Linked DNA regions of Homo sapiens: regions 1, 2, 3, 4, 5 and 7 are each linked to region 6. The links are contacts of gene promoters, found by promoter capture Hi-C in blood cells and fetal thymus (Javierre and others, 2016). All regions are on one chromosome and are shown on one strand. The core of a region is centred on a gene start or on the middle of the fragment in contact, and the rest is flanking DNA. Distances in the headings are between cores, read along the strand shown.

Evidence for each region. The method cuts DNA at HindIII sites, captures the fragments that hold promoters and counts their contacts. A CHiCAGO score of 5 or more calls a contact.
Region 1: a contact is called between the fragment with the promoter of SIAE here and the fragment with the promoter of STT3A-AS1 in region 6, in 6 of 17 cell types (total CD8 T cells, naive CD4 T cells, naive CD8 T cells and 3 more). The highest score is 8.0, in total CD8 T cells.
Region 2: a fragment that was not itself captured here is called in contact with the fragment with the promoter of STT3A-AS1 in region 6 in 2 of 17 cell types (non-activated CD4 T cells and naive CD8 T cells); the score reaches 6.1 in non-activated CD4 T cells.
Region 3: a fragment that was not itself captured here is called in contact with the fragment with the promoter of STT3A-AS1 in region 6 in 1 of 17 cell types (activated CD4 T cells); the score reaches 6.9 in activated CD4 T cells.
Region 4: the fragment with the promoter of DCPS here is called in contact with the fragment with the promoter of STT3A-AS1 in region 6 in 1 of 17 cell types (naive CD8 T cells); the score reaches 6.7 in naive CD8 T cells.
Region 5: the fragment with the promoter of ROBO3 here is called in contact with the fragment with the promoter of STT3A-AS1 in region 6 in 2 of 17 cell types (naive CD8 T cells and non-activated CD4 T cells); the score reaches 5.8 in naive CD8 T cells.
Region 7: a fragment that was not itself captured here is called in contact with the fragment with the promoter of STT3A-AS1 in region 6 in 1 of 17 cell types (fetal thymus); the score reaches 5.8 in fetal thymus.

Annotation. Positions count from the first base shown.
Region 1 is chr11:124,672,398-124,675,097 of GRCh38, forward strand. It overlaps SIAE (sialic acid acetylesterase), which reads right to left and starts at 1,342. Exons shown (of 10, transcript NM_170601.5): 1 at 1,245-1,342. The coding sequence starts at 1,311. SPA17 (sperm autoantigenic protein 17) reads left to right here and starts at 1,507. Exons shown (of 5, transcript NM_017425.4): 1 at 1,507-1,555. RefSeq lists silencers at 1,278-1,397, 1,370-1,528 and an enhancer at 1,438-1,617. The HindIII fragment of the contact is 8,074 bases long and covers 1-2,700 here.
Region 2 is chr11:124,617,972-124,620,671 of GRCh38, forward strand. It overlaps PANX3 (pannexin 3), which reads left to right. Exons shown (of 4, transcript NM_052959.3): 4 at 1,325-2,385. The coding sequence ends at 1,964. It overlaps LOC124902779 (a long non-coding RNA gene), which reads right to left. Exons shown (of 2, transcript XR_007062932.1): 1 at 1-2,700. Among named protein-coding and RNA genes, the nearest start is that of TBRG1, 3.5 kb to the right of the region's middle. The HindIII fragment of the contact is 1,464 bases long and covers 523-1,986 here.
Region 3 is chr11:124,795,733-124,798,432 of GRCh38, forward strand. All of the region lies in intron 1 of MSANTD2 (Myb/SANT DNA binding domain containing 2), which reads right to left. Among named protein-coding and RNA genes, the nearest start is that of MSANTD2, 3.3 kb to the right of the region's middle. The HindIII fragment of the contact is 2,862 bases long and covers 1-2,700 here.
Region 4 is chr11:126,302,720-126,305,419 of GRCh38, forward strand. DCPS (decapping enzyme, scavenger) reads left to right here and starts at 1,341. Exons shown (of 6, transcript NM_014026.6): 1 at 1,341-1,562. The coding sequence starts at 1,362. It overlaps TIRAP-AS1 (TIRAP antisense RNA 1), which reads right to left and starts at 1,603. Exons shown (of 2, transcript NR_187388.1): 1 at 1,469-1,603. RefSeq lists a silencer at 1,299-1,428. The HindIII fragment of the contact is 18,674 bases long and covers 1-2,700 here.
Region 5 is chr11:124,864,123-124,866,822 of GRCh38, forward strand. ROBO3 (roundabout guidance receptor 3) reads left to right here and starts at 1,310. Exons shown (of 28, transcript NM_022370.4): 1 at 1,310-1,615. The coding sequence starts at 1,456. RefSeq lists an enhancer at 1,626-2,302. The HindIII fragment of the contact is 17,224 bases long and covers 1-2,700 here.
Region 6 is chr11:125,591,231-125,593,930 of GRCh38, forward strand. It overlaps STT3A-AS1 (STT3A antisense RNA 1), which reads right to left and starts at 1,338. Exons shown (of 4, transcript NR_132372.1): 1 at 1,188-1,338. It overlaps STT3A (STT3 oligosaccharyltransferase complex catalytic subunit A), which reads left to right and starts at 1,622. Exons shown (of 18, transcript NM_152713.5): 1 at 1,622-1,688. RefSeq lists enhancers at 607-776, 894-1,488. The HindIII fragment of the contact is 3,144 bases long and covers 1-2,498 here.
Region 7 is chr11:126,352,780-126,355,479 of GRCh38, forward strand. GSEC (G-quadruplex forming sequence containing lncRNA) reads right to left here. Exons shown (of 2, transcript NR_033839.1): 1 at 2,663-2,700. Among named protein-coding and RNA genes, the nearest start is that of GSEC, 1.5 kb to the right of the region's middle. RefSeq lists enhancers at 1,799-2,542, 2,543-2,700. The HindIII fragment of the contact is 1,362 bases long and covers 672-2,033 here.

The DNA of each region.
Region 1 (2,700 bases), core at 92-2,591, 920 kb before region 6:
GTTCATTTTATTGTGTCATTGTTACATATAATTTTGTACATCTCAAGCATTACATGGTAAACATGGGCACAGGGAGAATGACTTAAAGGAAAAACGTCAGGATACGCAACCAAGTAGAGTACTAATGAATGAAAAATGTGATCAATGTTAATGAAGGTGATGTAACAATAAGACCCAAAGGAGGAGATAAAATACTGACACTAAAATAAACAGCCTTTAACTGAAAACCTAATAAAATATCTTTTCCCCACCTCATAAGATGGATCTCAAAGGTCACTGAGTGGAGATAAGAGTCAGGAAATGGCATACAGAGTGCTAGCATTTTGCACTTTTGTTAGACTCTGAACAATCATTTATGGGCTGCAGTTTGTCTGAATCTAGGTACTTTTCCGGCTCTCAGGTAGAGCAGGAGTCATTTTTCTGCACGCTGTTCTCCTACCCCAACTATCATTTCTTAACAGGGATCTCTGGGGTCCACTCTTTGAGTGTTTTGAAACAGAAAGGAAGAAATCCAACATTATCACTTTAGTTTGCATTATCAGACAGATTGCACCTTCTGCTTTCTCCATACTGTGACCCAGTGTCCAGCCTAGGGTATTCGAATGGCAAGATCTGACCTGCGCAACAGCCAAAGGGAGCCACCAGCCTCCCCTATGCCACTCACATTTTCCCACCACCAATATCTGTAAGCGGTACCAGAAATCAAAACTGAGCCTTAAATAGTCAGAGCTAGTGAGGGGGTTGTATTTCTTAGCCCTGATAACCACTTAAACGAGTAAAATTTAATTCCCCTAAGGAACCCCGCCTGAAGCAAACCCTCCCCAAGGGCACCACTGAGGGGGTAGCGCTGAAATGTTTTGGAAGATTCAGTCACCTGTTTCCAAATATTACCTAACTAGCTTCGCCTCCTTCCCTCCGAGCTCCCCTGCAGTTACTCCAGGACCCCGAAGGCCTCTTTCTGGGCACATTTGGGCCTCCCCACTCAGACAAGCCGCACTTTCTCCCTGCTCACAGGCTGCATGTCAGGGATGGTAAGTGGGGGGTGGAGAAAGTGGAGAGGCCGGGGTTCAACCCAGCAGACTCCTGCAGACCGGGCCTCGGTCGGAGACGCGAGCCCCTAGCCTAGCTAGGTTCCTTCGTCGACCTTGAGAAAGGGGCGCGGATCCGTGTCCCGCAGAGGACACGGGGTCTCGGAGCCCGCACAGGCTGAGGGGCAGGGGTCCGGCCGAGCCGGGCCGCCTCACCTGCACTTCTGTCGGCCCACAGGATTAATGGCAGCACCAGCCCGAGTACAAGCCCCGGCGCGACCATGCTTGCAAGGATCTGACCGCCGCCTAGGACTGGGAAAGTGGGTTCCCGGCAGGGGCGGGGCCTGGGCGGGGGCGAGGCCGACTCCACCCTTTTGCAGTCCTCGCAGCCTCCCGCGACCTCAGGACTGGGCTGTACTCGCCCCTTCTCGGCCGCCGTAGTTTTTTTTTTTTTTTAAAGAAAAAACGGTTACCCAGCAACTAGAAAAACAACCGGAACCGGCGGCACCAGCTCGGAGAGAAAGGAGGTGAGGCCGCTTCCCCACTTCCTCTCCGATACCAAGACCTAGCCTTTTCCCTTCGTCTCTCTTATTCTCTCAGCATCCCAGACACAGCCTCGGAGCCCTGGGCCGTTTGGGAGCCGAGGCAGCCCATTCTGCGCGAGTCTGAAATCCCAGGTCCTCAACATCCCGCCCCCGACTAGACCCGTCTGCCCCCTCCGCCCGCCCTCCTCTGCCCACATTGGTTCAGAATCTCGCCAGCTCTTTTCACCACTCTAGAATGGTTCGATACCCCCATCTACTGCTCCCTCAGAAAAAGCAAAAGAGAGGAGTCAGGCGTGGTGGCGCGCGCCTGTAATCCCAATTGCTCGGGAGGCTGAGGCGGGATCATCGCTGGAGCCCAGGAGTTCGAGGCCAGAGACCCCCTCTCAAAGAAAAAAAAAGCGATGAAACGAGAACCCTCCATAGTCTGAGCCTCATTAAACCGTCCAGTTCTCCCAACCTGGACCCCTACCACGGCCTCCGCCTCTATTCCGCATTGACGCACACTCTCACATTAACAGGCCAGGTCCCGGAGGATTCTTTTCATACTCAGTAGTAGCTCAGCCCGCTGCTTAGCAGCTACCCTTAATCTAGCCCTTGTATTTCAAGACAGAAAGAGACAACCTGATCAAGAAGAAACCGAAAAATATAAGAATTCTAAAACTTTAGAGGCTGGGATTTCAAAATCATGACACACAGCCCCATCCCATCCCATCCCTCCCTCACACACACGCACGCACAACCCCATTCCACAGTACGAAGGTGTTCGAAGCATTGTGGGTCATGCTTCAGAAGTGGCAGCAAGGGGAAAGATTGTGCAACTTCTTCATTCAACAAATTAATTTCTAGAACCAGGACTAATTTCTACTCTTTAAAAAAAAATAGACCTCAAAGAAGGTCTTCTCAGCAATTGACAATGAATTTAACTTTTTAGCAATCATTCTCTCTAAATTCCTGTGTGATAGCAAAAATTACCCTTACCTTTTGAGCATATAAAGGGTAAAGAGAGAAAAAGTCATATTGAAAATTATGGGTTTTTTGCAGGATTTTAAATGATTTGGCCTAGTGAATGGGTCTGTGTTTGTATTATACTAATTCACAATGGAGATTTCAAAACTCTTTGGAAGAAA
Region 2 (2,700 bases), core at 5-2,504, 970 kb before region 6:
TCTGATACATTCACTTGTATGTGTTGGGGGATGGGGGTAGGAGAGACAAAGCTGTACCTACCCATGTGGGGCTTACATTCTATTAAGGAAACACAGACAAATAAACAGAACACAGAAATGAAATCTACGTTCTGAGATAATAAGTGGTATGAAGAAAAGAAAAAGTAAAGTGGGAAGTGGGGCAAGAGGAAGCTGGAGGGATGGAGAGTGGTGTAGCTTCACACAGAGTGGCCAGGCTAGATGGCCCAAGGAGACAATTGCGCTAACATTTGAATTATATTGTCCCATATTTATGCACATACTCTATCTTCTGAAAAAAAATCCTCTCTATCTTTTGAAGCCCAGATTTCAGCCAATATTTTCCATAAGGGTTTCTGAACATTGAAGGCCACACTGTTACCTCCCTCTCCTAACTTTTACAGCCACTGTGGTTTGTGTCCACTATTTTAGCAACAAACCAAGTGTCATTTTTATTCCGTATTTGCATGTCTTATCTGCCCCTTCCCCACAAGCCAGTCTCTAAGCTTCTTCAGAGCACAAACTGGCTTACATGTACCTGAACACCAAAGCTCTCGACAAACATTTGTGAGCCAAATTATTTACATAAGATGAATGAATTGTCCCAAAGATCATACACAGAGTACACAGGCCAAGAACCAGAATGTACTTTTTTTGGAGTGGGGGGGTGGGGGAGACAGGGTCTCACTCTGTTGCCCAGGCTGGAGTGCAGTGGCACGATCTTGGCTCATTGCAGCCTCAGTCTCCTGGGCACAAGCAATCCTCCCTCCTCAGCCTCCCAAGTAGCTGGAACCATAGGTGTACACTACTACACCCAGCTAATTTTTGTATTTTTTCATAGAGATGAGGTCTTACTGTGTTTCCCATGGTAGTCTCAAACCCCTGGGCTTATGGGACCCTTCCACCTCGGCCGCTGGGATTATGAGCATAAGCCACCATGCCCGGCCCAGAATGCACTTAGCTAAACCCCCAATCCAGTGCTAATTTCATAAGCCTATTGCTACCTAAAGATCCTACTTCAGCTTAGAACTTTAGTCCGCCTTGCTTGGCAGAAATCCAGTGTAATAAATCATTACTCACTGATCATTCACTGGGTTTATCACATTGCAGTAAGTACTTGGAGAATCAAGATATACTCATATGCCTCAGTTTGGGGGAGAAGCATGGTTATGCTCGGGAAGACAGATTTTCATGGGAACCAAGAATGCCATGTTGAAAACAGATCTGTTACTTTGTCACATGCCTCTCTTAGAGTATGGTTCTAAATGGTCACTACTAACCTTGCCTCCTTCCTTCCACTGCCCAGGGCTCGGAAAGAACGATACTTTGAATTCCCTTTGCTAGAGCGGTACCTGGCATGTAAGCAGCGTTCACATTCGCTAGTGGCTACCTACCTCCTGAGGAACTCCCTCTTGCTCATCTTCACCTCCGCCACTTACCTATACCTTGGTCATTTCCATCTGGATGTCTTCTTCCAGGAAGAATTCAGCTGCTCCATCAAGACAGGGCTGCTAAGTGATGAGACCCATGTCCCCAATCTGATCACATGCAGGCTGACATCACTGTCCATTTTCCAGATTGTTAGCCTCTCCAGTGTAGCAATATACACCATATTGGTTCCAGTGATAATATACAACCTCACACGGCTATGTCGGTGGGACAAACGACTTTTATCTGTCTATGAGATGCTCCCAGCTTTTGATCTCCTCAGCAGAAAGATGCTAGGATGTCCCATCAATGACCTCAATGTGATCCTTCTTTTCCTCCGAGCTAACATCTCTGAGCTCATCTCTTTTAGCTGGCTGAGTGTCTTATGTGTGTTGAAGGATACAACCACCCAGAAGCACAATATTGACACAGTAGTTGATTTTATGACTTTATTGGCTGGCTTAGAACCCTCAAAACCCAAACACCTCACCAACTCGGCATGTGATGAACACCCATAGTTAAGAAACCATGGAGCAAGAAAGCTTGTGGAAAGTCTCTCTCCTTCCTCATAAGACATGCACACTAATACACATACACACCAAAAAATTACACATTTTAAAACTGCTAAGCTTGGATTTAACTGAATCATATATCTTTTATCATGTTATCCTAAAAGTGAGAAGACATAACCAAGACATGGAAATAAATGTGAAAGCTGGAGCCGAAGAGTCAAAGAGCTAAAAAATTAAGTCTAGAACATTCTATGAGGATAGTATAAATAAAAAGAAATACAGTCTAGACATGCTGCAAGGAAAGAAGATTCTAAAGTCCGTTTATGGAGGCAATTCCATATCCTTTCTTGAACGCACATTCAGCTTACCCCAGAGAGCAAGTGAGGCAATCTGGCAAAAGATTAATAAAGATGTAAACCCCTGGAAACCCTTTGGTGTGGCCTGAAATCCTAGGAATTTACCCAGCTTGCTTTGTAGAAGTTATCAACCTTGTCCAAGTCCTCTGTAGCCTCCAAAGTGCTGGGAGATGATGGCTTCAATTTGTAATCTGCTCTTAGGATGTAAGGACATAGTAGAACAAGGCTGGGGCCATGTCTCAGCCGTGAGTGGAGCCTTCAGGTGCCCAGATACACTTTTCACCATCTAAACCAGGAACTCATTTCACCAGGGGCTGGGATTATGGGCTATGGACTTCTTCACAACTGTTAACGGAGCCAGGTATGCTTTTAATACTCCAGAGGAT
Region 3 (2,700 bases), core at 79-2,578, 800 kb before region 6:
TAGCAGACAGCCCTCCACATAGTAAGCACTTAAGTATTTGGTGACTGGAGATATGAAAAGGCCTACAGTAAAAGAGAAAAATCATGCAATCACTAGATAAAAAACTACCTAGATTTGTGTATCTGACTCCAAAATTGGGCTGGAATTGTTAGTAGACAAATTTTCTTCTGGCAAACAAACAAAAATGCAACAAAACTTCAAGATAAACAATCTATGTAGTAAGGCAGTGTCAAACACATCCGTTTTACCCAAACGACAGAACAAATACCAATAAGATGACAGACATCAAAATCAAACTTTGCAGCAATAAACAAATTTTCATATCTGACTGTAAATTAAAATCTTGTGTGCTTAGAAACATGTTCATTTAGACAGTATTAAAAAGTAGGATGTTAGTCTCAAAATCCAAGAGTTAAATTATTAATTCAATTTCAATACTTATAATTTTAGTATTTTTACTGTATAGATAAGAGGACCAAGGCACAGTCCAAAGAAGGTAAGTGACATGCTTTAAGGTGATTCAGGAAGGTGGTCAGAAAAGGGTGCAATAAGGCTCAGCTTTCTGATCCTTTATACAATGTGAGGAAGGCTGCTAATCAGAAATTATCTGACTAAAGGAAGGTTTGCATGGAAAAATTAAAGTTGCTATATAGCTCTTCCTTTTAAAGTTAGAAGAAATTATTTACTGGGTTTTCATAGTTGAATTCTTTTTTTTTAAGAGACCAGGTCTCACTATGTTGCCCAAGCTGGAGTACAGTGGCTATTTACAGGTGCTATGATCATGGCACACTGCAGCCTCAAATTCATGAGCTCAAGCGATCCTCCCACCTCACCCTCTAAAGTAGCTGGGACAACAGGGAAGCGCTACTGTACCCGGCTCATAATTGAATTTTTGACAGGAATTTCAAATATATTAGCCCAGAAATGTAATTGACTCACACATATTCCTTCTCTGTGAGCCTCTGACATTGAGTTCACATGTACTTTAGTCTGCGTAAGAAGTTCCTCCTTTTCCTTTTCCACATCTTACTACTTTGCTTCTATTTTGTAAAATCTAAAGCAAAAAGTATTACTAAGTTTCTTTTTGTAGTTCTCATCAACACAAAGTGAAAGAGATTTTTGAACTACTTGTTTTAAATCTGCATTTCTGAAACTGGGATCTAATGACTTCTTTTCAGAGGTTTGAGATTCTCTGAGATTTTAAGATAGCAGTTTTATTTTCATAAGCATAATCTGAGTTACTTGAACATCCACTTCATAATTGTGTAGGAATATGATTTCAGTGACCACATTTGCTTCTGTGCTGAAGATTACATTCACACTAAATCTCCTTAAATGCAGTATTCTTCAGACTGGGTTCCAAAGTCTGTTTTTTCGTTAAACAGCAGTATTATTGAATAATACTGCTGCAGATTTTTATATTTTCCAATATTCTCTTTCTAGACTTTATTTGGTGAATTAATTAAATAAGGCCGGATGTGGTGGCTCTCGCCTATAATCCCAGCACTTTGGGAGGCCAAGGCAGGCGGATCGCTTGATTCTAGGAGTTTGAGACCAGTCTAGGCAACACAGTGAGACCCTGCTTCTAAAAAAACAAAAATACAAAATTTAAAAATTAGCTGGGCGTGGTAGTAAATGCCTGTAGTCCTAGCTACTCAGGAAGCTGAGGTGGGAGCATCACTTAGGTCCAGGAGTTCAAGGCTGCAGTGAGCTATGATCACGTTACTGCACTCCAGCTTAGGCAACAGAGCAAAACCCTGCCTCCATTAAAAATAAACATAAAACAAATTAAAAAAAATGTAGTGTCTACTATATGCTAGTACAGCAGTGAGTAAGAGAGACCAGAACCTGTCCTTAGAGAGCTTATCATTCTGGCAGGAACACTCAACATTACTAATGAAAAAGTCTGGGTTCTTTGATTGAAATCACATAAAGAGTAGAGCACTTTAAAACACAAAACAGTTATCTGCCCTCCTTGTTAACAGCTACTATGGATCAGAGAACCCATACTCATCAGCACATTCCCAAAATACCCTAAGAGCTTGAGGTCAACTTGGTTTTACCTGTCTGGACACAGGTAAACCAATCCTCTTCTAAAAATTATTCAAATAAATCTCCTTTTCTTGCTTTAAGTTATCCTTCTCATAACTGGACAATGAAACAACCCAATTAGATACTCCCTGGTTGAGAAACAATTTTATGGAGAGATTTATATTCAGTGAGGTTTTGACAACACACTTTTTCTGCGTGATTGGGAAGTTTCTACAGACAGAAATCAATCAAGCTGAAACAGTTTAAAATGCCTAAAATGCACTTCTAAACTCAAGAAGAGGTCATGGATAGACGCTAGCCAAGACAGTACAAAAAGTCTCCCAAAAATTTAACCTTGGCTGGGCACGGTGGCTCACGCCTGTAATCCTAGTGCTTTGGGAGACTGAGGCAGGACAGCTTGAGACCAGGGAGCTAAAACCAGCCTGAGCAACGTAGAAGACCCTGTCTCTTAAAAAAAAAAAAAAAAAAAAAAAAAATTTAATGAGCCAGGTGTGGTGGGGCATGCCTGCAGTCCTAGCTACTGGGGAGGATTGTTTGAGCCCAGGAGTTCTTCAGGTTGGGCAAGAGAGGGAGATCCTCTCTCTAAATATAAATAAATAAAAATTAAAATTTAACCTTAATGACGTTGAATAGAACAAATGAGATTCA
Region 4 (2,700 bases), core at 91-2,590, 710 kb after region 6:
TCAAACTAACACATGGTACACTTTGTTATTGACCAAAAACTGACTGTAAATTGCATCTTGTTGCTAACGTTGAGAATGGCAAAAACTGTCCCACACCCATGAGATCTGTCTGAAAACCTAAACTCAAATCACTGGCAAAATAAATGTGTGGCTGACTGAAGCGATGTAAGTACCAACTCTTTTTTTTTTTCTTTGAGACGTAGTCTCGCTCTGTCGCCAGGGTGGAGTGCAGTGGTGCGATCTCGGCTCACTACAATACTCCGCCCGCGTTCAAGCGATTTTCCTGCCTCAGCCTCCCGAGTAGCTGGGACTACAGGCGCGGGCCACCACGCCCGGGTAATTTTTGTATTTTTAGTAGAGACGGGGTTTCACCATGTTGGCCAGGATGGTCTCGGTATCTTAACCTCGTGATCCGTCCACCTCGACCTCTCGAAGTGCTGGAATTACAGGCGTGAGCCACCGCGCCTGTCCGTAAGTACCAACTCTTCACAAAATTTAGATCTGTTAAATAACACCAGTGAAAAACGGGCTAACCAGAAACAATGGTCACCAAAGAAACCCTCAACAGCAGAAGTTACAAGTAATAATTTTATATGGCAAAAAAAAAAAAAAAAAAAAAAAAAAAGAGAAACGAAACCCTGGGAGACGAATCATACTGCAAATCATATCCCTGGGTAGCAGGGCAGAAATACAGGTAAACAAAATAGAGAGGAGGGGGATGCCTCTAGCCCGGAAATAAGTGGGTGGTGGAGATGGTTCTTCTGGCCATATTCGTTTACCTTTTTTGTCAGCAGAAAAGTACTGAGTCTACAAAGTAAAAAACTGACCACGATGAAAATTTCTGCAAAGTAATTAAAATGGGAGAAAAATGGAAATGGCTTAAATACTCGGTATAAAAAATCGACCAAGGAATCAAATGGGCTCACGGATTTGCGTCAGAAACGTTGCTTCCCCGATAATTGGTCAACGTCGGTGTAACTATGATTAAAATGTCAGTATTCAAACAAGGGCTCCAACACTACCGTGGCCCAAGGGCGTCTTCGGCTCCCACCCCGGGGCGTGGGCCTGGGGGTCCCTCTTCACTGCGCAGCCACCTCTAGCCCGCCGCTTTCGGGACTCTCAGCCTTCTTTTCCCTTCCCTGAGGGCCGGCCGGCACCACAACGGGGCCAAAGGCAGTAACTCGGTTGAAAGGCGCGCCCTGGGACAGGTCAGCGGGCTCCGCCATGCGCGGCACGCATCCCGCAGGAGCGGGTGCCAGAGCAGGGTAGGCCGGGAGTTAGCAGCCCAGCCAGGCCGCTGGACTCGGGCTAGGGGCGGGGCCAGCGCAGGGGGCGCAGGCGCACACCGCCTCCGCGGCAGCATGGCGGACGCAGCTCCTCAACTAGGCAAGAGGAAGCGCGAATTGGACGTGGAGGAGGCCCACGCCGCCAGCACAGAGGAAAAGGAGGCAGGAGTTGGAAATGGTACCTGTGCTCCTGTCCGCTTACCGTTCTCCGGCTTCAGACTGCAGAAGGTGCTGAGGGAGTCTGCGCGGGACAAAATCATTTTCCTACACGGGAAGGTACCAGGAGGCAACCCTGAGGTGGGATGCGGGAAGCAGTGAACCAATCATCGCCTCGGAGGCAGATTTTTTTTTTTCGGATCTCGGCTGGAAAATACCAATCATTATCACTCCGGGGAGGCGGGAGTGCGCCACTAGAATGCATAGAGGGGCGGTGAAAGGCGGCAAGATTGCCTTTGAAATTAAGGCAATGAACACATCTAGCTCTAATTTTTCTAATGTCTCCACTAGAAATATCTACTGGGAGAGTGCATTGCAGATTAAAGATCACATGTTACATTCCCCAAGCCATTCATCATCCATTTATGTATACAGGGACTAGGAACCCAGTCAATGTTAGATGTCTCGCTCATCCCTGTCCGTGGAAACGACATGAGACTGTAGGAGATGTGATCTCTGCCTTACGCGACTTCAGCCGTAACAGGAGAACAATATATTATAATTGTTAATTCAGTTCTACGCACGCACTTTCATGCATGCCAGACACTAAACTAGGTACTGGGGATGTGGAGACGAAAGTTACCATCCCTGATCTTCAGGACTACGGAATATTTCTGGCGAGACAGATACACACAGCTTGCTCCAATACCAACGTGCTCAGCAATCTGGCAGGGGCTGAGGAGAGATGGAGACCATTCCAGGAACTAGTGAGGAGGCCTAGCCAGAGCAGATATGGGGGTTCCCCAGAAACTAGTGAGGAGGCCTAGCCAGGGCAGATAAGGGGGTTCCCTAGAACTACTAGCAGGAACTCTCACCTTTGGGAGGATCAGGGAACCTTGGCCTAGGCTTCCATGCCTCTGTGTGTATCTGGTTTTTAAATTTTTATTTATTTATTTATTTATTTTTGAGACGGAGTCTCTCCTCTCTGTCACCCAGGCTAGAGTGCAGTGATGTGATCTCGGCTCACTGCAACCTCTGCCTCCCGAGTTCAAGCTATTCTACCTGCCTCAGCCTGCCCAATAGCTGGGATTACAGGCCCCCGCCACCATGCCCAGCTAATTTTTGTATTTTTAGTAGAGATGGGGGTTTCACCATGTTGGCCAGGCTGGTCTCGAACTCCTGACCTCAGGTGATCCGCCTGCCTCTGCCTCCCAAAGTGCTGGGATTACAGGCGTGAGCCACCGCACCCGCCTTTTTT
Region 5 (2,700 bases), core at 60-2,559, 730 kb before region 6:
ACAGCCAGGCGCCTGGACTGAGGAAGGAGGCTTGGAACAAGCCCCCCACCCCTTGACAATGTCTCGGGTTCCCTTGAACAAGCTCTGCCTGAAATATTTCAATTCTTGATTCTGCTTACTCCAGAGTCTGCGACTGTATAGCACCCACCCCTCTGATCTCGACCCCTTTGGGGTCAGAAGCAGTCGCCCCATGAAAGTTGTCTCATCCCAGAACCTGACGGCTGAGCCAGAACTCTGGCACTGACTCTTCAATCAGCAGGGCCTTACCTCAGGTTAGGAATGCCCCGGCCTCTCTCTTTCCCTGATACCCCAAAGCCATCTCCTGTCTAGGAAAGTGAGTTTGTCGAGGTGGGTCTTCAGGTAGAAAGAACTCCAGAAAAGTCAGAAGCAGACCGCGACTGGAAGTGGGAGGTGGGAGTAGGGGCCCATGGTTTTCTTTTCGCCCCCCCCAGGAAGGACGACTGCTATCCGATTTGAACAGATTTGCACTAATTTTGCAGCAATCCCACATGCCTTTACAAAAATAATATTATCTTTGTTTTTGTCCTAGAATCCTTGGTTCCATTTCAGTCTCCTCAAAAACGTAAAACAATTTAATAAAAAATGTCAAAGCAGGGTAATGTAAAAGGATTCAAATAAATGACAGTTGCCTGGGTTTCCCTGGCTTTCAGTCTCCTACAGGAACTCCTAGATTAGGGCGTTTGGAGCAGGACTCCCGGGTCAGGGCGCGCCGCTCCATCCTCTGGCCTCCTGGCTGCAGACCAAAGGACCAGAGGGCAGAGAGGTGGACCTGTCTTGGAATTCTCTGCCTACTCCCAACTCTTGCTGCAAACCACCCCAGTCTCCTGCCCTTCCGTCGCCAAACCCCTAGACTTGGGAGGGAATGGAAACCAGAACTTTGGCAGCAAGGAGCATTGCTTGCGCTTTGCCTCAGTTTCCAAAAGGTTCGGGAAAAGAGAGGACAGATTCCTGTTCTAAAGTTGGGCAGAAGGGCAGAGTCCGACAGAGCCTCGTCCCTCATCTTGGGTGCTTTGAGACAGGGAAAATCTCTCGCCGCGTCCAGAACGGAACGCTGGGCTTGGGGTGCGGGGCGGGGACTCCAACTCGCGCGCTACGCTACTCGTGTCTCCTGCTCGGATAGTGACTGTAGAGGTAAGGGTGGGAGGGTGGAGGGAGGCGGATTAATCCCTTAATTACGCCGTGATCGGCGTGGCACCTGCTTTCCGCCTGCCCAGCTCCCAGGGGACTCCGGCACTAGGGGGTGGAGAGAAGGACGAGGGAAGGAGGAGGGCACGAAGAGGCACCGACCGTACCCAGGCGCACCGGCAGGAGAGCGGCACCGTGGCTGCCGCAGCGCGCAGAGGCTGTGGAGGGGCTTACGGCTCCCAGCCCACGGGTCTCAGACCCAGGGGCTGGGCCCCCAGCCCCCAGTCCCGATCCCAGCTGGGTCGAGCCATGCTGCGCTACCTGCTGAAAACGCTGCTGCAGATGAACTTGTTCGCGGACTCTCTGGCCGGGGACATCTCCAACTCCAGCGAGCTGCTCTTGGGCTTCAACTCCTCGCTGGCGGCGCTCAACCACACCCTGCTGCCTCCCGGCGATCCCTCTCTCAACGGTGAGACCCTGCCTCTTGGGGATATGGGATCCTGGGATGGGGATGAGGTGAGAGGGCGGCGTGGAAGGGAAGGAGAAGCGCTCCTGTCCCGAGGTCCGGGATTGAGTGGCGCCTCCCAGCGCCTCCCTGGGTCGTGGGGTCTAAGGGATAATTTGGAGCTTCGAGCACATGAGTGGGGGTACCCGCGGGAGGTCGAGGGCTTGGGAGAAGATGGCTACTGAGTCTTTTTACACCTCCTTCCCTTCCCCTACAACGCCCACCCCAGGTGAGAAGAACCGTTGCTGGTAACGGGCAGGGAAGTCCGAGCTAAGAAAGGCCCGGGCCCAGCGCAGGGAGGGCAGAGGAGGGGGCACAGTCTCCCGCCGGCCTCGGCCAAGCCAGGTCACTCGGTGACCCACCCAGGCAGCTGGTCTTCGGAACCCCGAAGTTTCCCAAGAACTCACTTAGGACCAGAGGAAGCCAAAATGCTGGATGTGTTTGCTACGGAGGGGATAGGGGCGGCGATCATTTTAAGGAAACTTAGAAGTTTGTCTTTCAGCGGCGGGACTCTCAGCCGGCCCACCCCGGCAGAGCTGTGGCGGGCGGGCGGAGCTGGCGGCGAGGTCGTTACCGCTAATTACGGTGATTAATAAATGACTGGGACAGCGCGCTCTCCCCTAGCGCCGCGGGGAAGCTGCGGGAGCCGGCCGCCGCCAGCCTGCGGAGAGGCCGGAGCGCGCCCCCTGCCTGCCGCATCGGGAACCCCCGCTTTACCGGGCGCTTTCGCGTGTGGTTCCCTCCAGGTGCACGCGGTCCCCATCCCTCTGCCTCGACCCACTCGAGTCTAGTGACGAGCACTGTGCTGGGGACTCGAAGGTGGAGAGAAAGGAGACCCTGGCAATATGTGTGTGTTCATGTGTGGGGCACATCAGGTGCTGAGGGAGGAGCCCCAGAGCCTCATTAGCATGGCCATTAGCTATTCATTAGGCTGCAGTCGAAGCATCTCCTGAGACCGGGAAGGGTAGAGGGGGAAATTCCAGGGAAAGGGCGCCTGCAGCTGTGTCTACAGGAATTAGGGGGAAAAGGCCGACCAGAAGGGTGTGGTC
Region 6 (2,700 bases), core at 88-2,587:
CTTTTTGAGACGGAGTCCAGCTCTGTCGCCAGGCTGGAGTGCAGTGGCACGATCTCGGCTCACTGCAACCTCCGACTCCCTGGTTCAAGTGATTCTGTGTCAGCCTCCCGAGTAGCTGGGATTACAGGCACGCGCCACCACGCCCAGCTAATTTTTCTATTTTTAGTAGAGACGGGTTTCACCATGTTGGCCAGGATGGTCTCTACCTCCTGACCTCGTGATCCGCCCGCCTTGGCCTCCCAAAGTGCTGGGATTACAGGGGTGAGCCACCGCGCCCGACCAAAACTCGTATTTTGAAGAAGCATTTACTCCAAGTTCTGTAATTCCTTCAGGCTCAGCTTCAGTTTCCTTTTGTTAAAGTAAAATTACATCGAACACTTACTACTAAAAACAAAACCAAAAAAAAGCAGATCTATTGAATCATAACGTCCTGGGGCGAGCCTGGTCATGTGGATTTTGAAAAAAATGCATGTGATTCTGAAGCAGTGATTTAAATAATGACCTTTCAATAAGTGGTGGGTTCCGTTCATGGGAGAATAGGAAACTGCGTGAGTGGTAGAGGCAACAAGTTCGAAGAGCTGCGAGACGTTCCCACTCTCTCTGGTGTAGCCTTGGCTCACCGAGGCGCGCAGGGAGTGGAAGTGCCTGAGGATAAAGGTGTACACGTGCGAGTCTGAGATGATGGAATTGCTGCTCAAACTTCGTCCCCTTCTCTGCCCTCAGCAAACTTATTGGGGGTCGGGGAGCGCGTGGGGTGCGAGAGAAGAGAGGCAAGTTAGGATAGGGAGAGCGGCTCTCTGGCCGGTATTTTAACAAAGGGCTGAACTGACTAAGCATGGCCGGGCTGCCTCCCGGTCTCCCGAGGAAGCCCGCTTGCTGCTGGGGAGGGCTGTGCCTCCGCGGCGGTGGCTGTCTCAGCTGGCAGTAGAAATGCTTCCAGCTTAGCCCCGACAACCCCTTTAGGCCTAGGCACGCTCTTTCACAAAACCAGGGGCTGTGAACTCTGTCAAGGTTCCCAGGTCCATCGCAGTTACCAAGGCACAGTAAAAGCTCGAGTCAACTATCAGGCACATCCTGCAAAAGACGAACTGTCTGGACCAGTCCGCGTTTGAGTTTTAATTGAGAATAAATAGGTAGAAAATGCTTCCCTCCTCTCCTTTCACCTTGTATTAGGTAACAATTTCTACCTTAAAAAAGACGGGAGACGAGCGGCTCCGCATTCCGAGTTACTGGGACTTGGAGCAAGGGCCTATTTCAGCGTAGTTTCCGCTTCTTGTCACATGACGGGAGTCAGTGGGCCGCGCCTTCCCACTGCGACTCCCCGTGGGTCCGCAAACCGACACGTCACTCCTCGGCCCTCAACCAAACTGCTTGGGGCACGTTCTTTCCGCGCTCTTGACTCCTACGCGCCGGCCTATGACAGCTCGGCGGGAGCATACAGACCTGCCTCTAGACTGCTAAGTGATAGCTGTAATGACCAATTAAAAACTTGAATCGCGGCCCGGTTTACGCCTCCGGATTTGACAGACAGTTCCGAGACCCTATCGCTCTCCAGAAGCGTCCTATTGGCCTGGAGCCAGCCAACGGGGGAGCGGTCCGGGAGGCGGACCCGGCTCCTGCCAGGGTTGGGTGCGCCGCTGAACGGATGGCTGAGGGAGCCCCGCGGATCGTTTAGGAAAGCCGGCCAGGTGAGAAGGCCGTAGAACGTAACTTGAAAATCAGCGGCAGGTGCAGTCCATGGCGTTGATGGGGCTGAACGAAGTGCAGGAGGCAAAACTCTAAATGGGGGTGGAGAGCAGAGCTTAGGGCCTTGCAGAGGAGGGGGCGTGGGGCGTGGTGTGGGGGCTTCCTGGATGGAAGGATGCGAAGGTCTAGGGAGGGAGGGTAAGGTGGGTCTTGAGAACAGAGCGTGGGAAAGACTGGGTCCTGGGACTAGTTATGGAGGGGAAGGCGCGTAGGATGCTGGGGTGATGAGTGTCCCGCGCTGAGGGGTATCAGAGGTGGTCAGTTCTTTGAGGGTGGGAAGAAGAGGGAGGTGGGACCCGCTGGAACGACCGGAAGGGAGAAGAGAGTAAAAGATCGTGAGAGGGTGTGGAAACGTGTGTAGGAAAACGGGGCTGGGGAAATTGCAGTCTGGGAAACTAGAGGCAGGGTGGCAGGAGATGCCACAGCTTGCAGGGCACAGTTGAGGAGAGCAGGTTGGTAAGTGTTTTAAGAAAGGTGTCTTTGCTCTTATTTGCTTGGCGGTGTGCGAAAGTGACCAAAGAGCACGAGATGAAATCTCCCTTACGGCCCTGCCCTCAATGACTAGCTCGTTTACTCAAGTTTTCAAGTAGAGATCCTAGCAGTCTCATTTTGGTGTGTGGCTCGTATCAACGCAGTGGTGTTAAGTTTGTTCCTATTTCAGGCATTCCAGAAAACAGCTGCAAACCCTGAGAGATATGGCTGGATTGTTGACCTCCTGGAGTAGTTAGGCCTTTATTTTTAGTTGCAAAGTAAGCTTTCCCTTTGGGACTATACTTAAACACATTTCTAAACTGCTCTTCTGGGACAGTTAATTATGGAGAACATGCTTGACTTCTCAGTGTTGGGGCTAGCATTCTATATGCCTTCCACCTAGTCCAGTGTTGTTGTTGTTTTGTTTTTCTCCTTTATTCCAATAATAGTGGGAAAAAAGATTCATGGAGGAGGATAGACAAA
Region 7 (2,700 bases), core at 103-2,602, 760 kb after region 6:
GGAAAGACAAGAAAAGAGAGAGAGAGAGGAAGGAAGGAAAGAAGGAAGGAAGAAAAAAAAAGAAAGAAAAAGAAAGAAGAGGAGAAGGAAAGATGGAAAGACAAGAAAAGAGAGAGAAAGGAAGGAAGGAAAGAAGGAAGAAAGGAAAGAAAAGAGAAGAGGAGAAGGAAAGATGGAAAGACAAGAAAAGAGAGAGAGAAAGGAACGAAGGAAAGAAGGAAGGAAGAAAGGAAAGAAAGAAAAAGAGAAGAGAAGGAAAGATGGAAAGACAAGAAGAGAGAGAGAGAAAGCAAGGAAGGAAAGAAGGAAGAAAAAGAAAGAAAAAGAGAAGAGGAGAAGGAAAGATGGAAAGACAAGAAAAGAGAGAGAAAGGAAGGAAGGAAAGAAGGAAGGAAGAAAGGAAAGAAAAAGAAAGAAGAGGAGAAAGAAAGATGGAAAGACAAGAAAAAGAGAGAGAAAGGAAGGAAGGAAAGAAGGAAGGAAGAAAGGAAAGAAAGAAAAAGAAAGAAGAGGAGAAGGAAAGATGGAAAGACAAGAAGAGAGAGAAAGGAAGGAAGGAAAGAAGGAAGGAAGAAAAGAAAGAAAGAAAAAGAGAGAAGAGAAGAGGAGAAAGGCACCAGAATTGCTTCCCTCCTGCCCCAAAGATGACATGGCTTCTAGGCAGTGAGCTAAGCTTGTGGCCATGCTGTTAAGAAACTGGAGGGAAAAGATCATCATGAGTAAGCACATTGTGGCCTAACCTGAGGGGAGCAGAATTACGGTTAGCTTCTGGGCACCTAGTAACCAGGCTTGGGATAAGCTGGGGGAGAGGCCTGAATACAGCTTATAGGTTAGAAAAGGCACGCCACCTGCATAGTAACAGCACACACTTATATATAGCAGGTTATGCTTTCAGACCAAATTCGCATCCATTGCCTGATTTAATGCCAACAATAGCCCTTTGAATAAGCAGTTATTTCCTTTCCCCTCCCCCCACCCCAGTAAGAAAACTAAAGCTATTTAGTGGCAGAGACAAGAGTTGGAACTCAGGTCTCCAGGAACAAATGCTGGTTCTTAAGTTCCATTTTCTGGTAGAGTGACATTTACGTGATTCACGGCAAGAACTGCAAACTGTGCTTAGATCTAGTTCATCAAATGGCCAAGTTTAGAGGCTGGGCTGACGCTTGGATCAGTTCTGTCAGATTCACTTAGTTATGAAGGGCAGCTGCTTACTCCCTTTGGGCCAGTCTTCCCATCTGTAGAACAAGGAGGCTCTTCCCTCTTCCTCGACTTGCCCGAGGCAGGGACTTAGTCATTGTGTTCTTTATACCCAGCTTAATTCCAGGCCTGGAGATGGCATGCAATAAATAGTTGTTGAATGGCTCACGCCTGTAATCCCAACACTTTGGGAGGCCGAGGCGGGCGGATCATAAGGTCAAGAGATCGAGACCATCCTGGCCAGCATGGTGAAACCTCGTCTCTACTAAAAATACAAAAATTAGCTGGGCATGGTGGCACGCGCCTGTAGTCCCAGCTACTCGGGAGGCTGAGGCAGGAGAATCACTTGAACCCGGGAGGCAGAGGTTGCAGTGAGCCAAGATCACGCCAGTGCACTCCAGCCTGGCGACAGAGCGAGACTCTGTCTCAAAATAATAAATAAATAAATAAATAAATAAATAAATAAATAGTTGTTGAATGCATGTCTGACTGATTAAGCCAAAGGCACCATATTCAAACAAAATCAGACACTGGTGCAATGCCAAACAGCTTCTGCCCGTGCAAGGAATGATTTAGCATGGAGCACAGTCACCTGCAGAGGAACAACTTGGAGGCAGACTCTCCTTACTCAGCTCACTTGGAGCAGAGCTTCCTGAGTTGGGGGTTCTTGACAGATAAGCCCTCCAGCTTCAGCAGAAGCAGGCTTGGAGCTGCCACTTCTCTGAACCCCCTTGCACTTACTGTCAGTCACTCACACCTTGCACTTATTCACATCCTATCCTGCCTCGTTCTTGAATGGAGTCCATGGTGAGCCTTCTCTGTGCCGCTGGATGGTAAGCTTCCTGGGGACAGGGAATGGGTCTGATAGTTTCCTTGGAGCCCCTGGCGCTCCCGGCACTGGGCTGTTGATACGTGGGGCTCCGGAAACACTGTGCTGACCTGTGAAAGGGACTGGCCTAAGGGGCTGTGGATTGTCCTGTAGGGTGACTTCTGAACTGTTCTTCAGCCTGGGCAGTTCCCAGGTTTATTTGGGGGGATGCCTGGGTCCAAAGAACCAGGGTCAGGGGCCCAGGGGTTTCTTCCTGGAGACAGGATGCCTGGCGCCTTCAATAACGGAAAGGAAACTGAGAAACTTTCTGAGGCCAAGATAAAGAGTATGCAAGTGAGGGGTGCAGAGAGAGCAGTTTAGGGGCAGCAGGCCCCAACCGAAGCAGAGGAAGGGCCCACGTCTGGGCCCAGGGGACTGACTGGCTGCCTTGCGTGCATGGGGCACGGGAAGCATAGGCTCCCGGAACAGGACCCTGCCCCAGTTTCCCCAGTGAGGGAAGGACACCGTTCCCCGTGGGATAGAGCACTGCACCCTTTCTTGATTCTCATTGTTCCCGGGAGCGAGCGCCTTGGCTGCGCTGGGCATACCCACCCTGGCGCCATTCACAGGCAGTGCCTGCCCTGGCCCTGTGCTCACCCCATCAGGCCTCCTCTTCCGCCTCTCTGGCACCCACG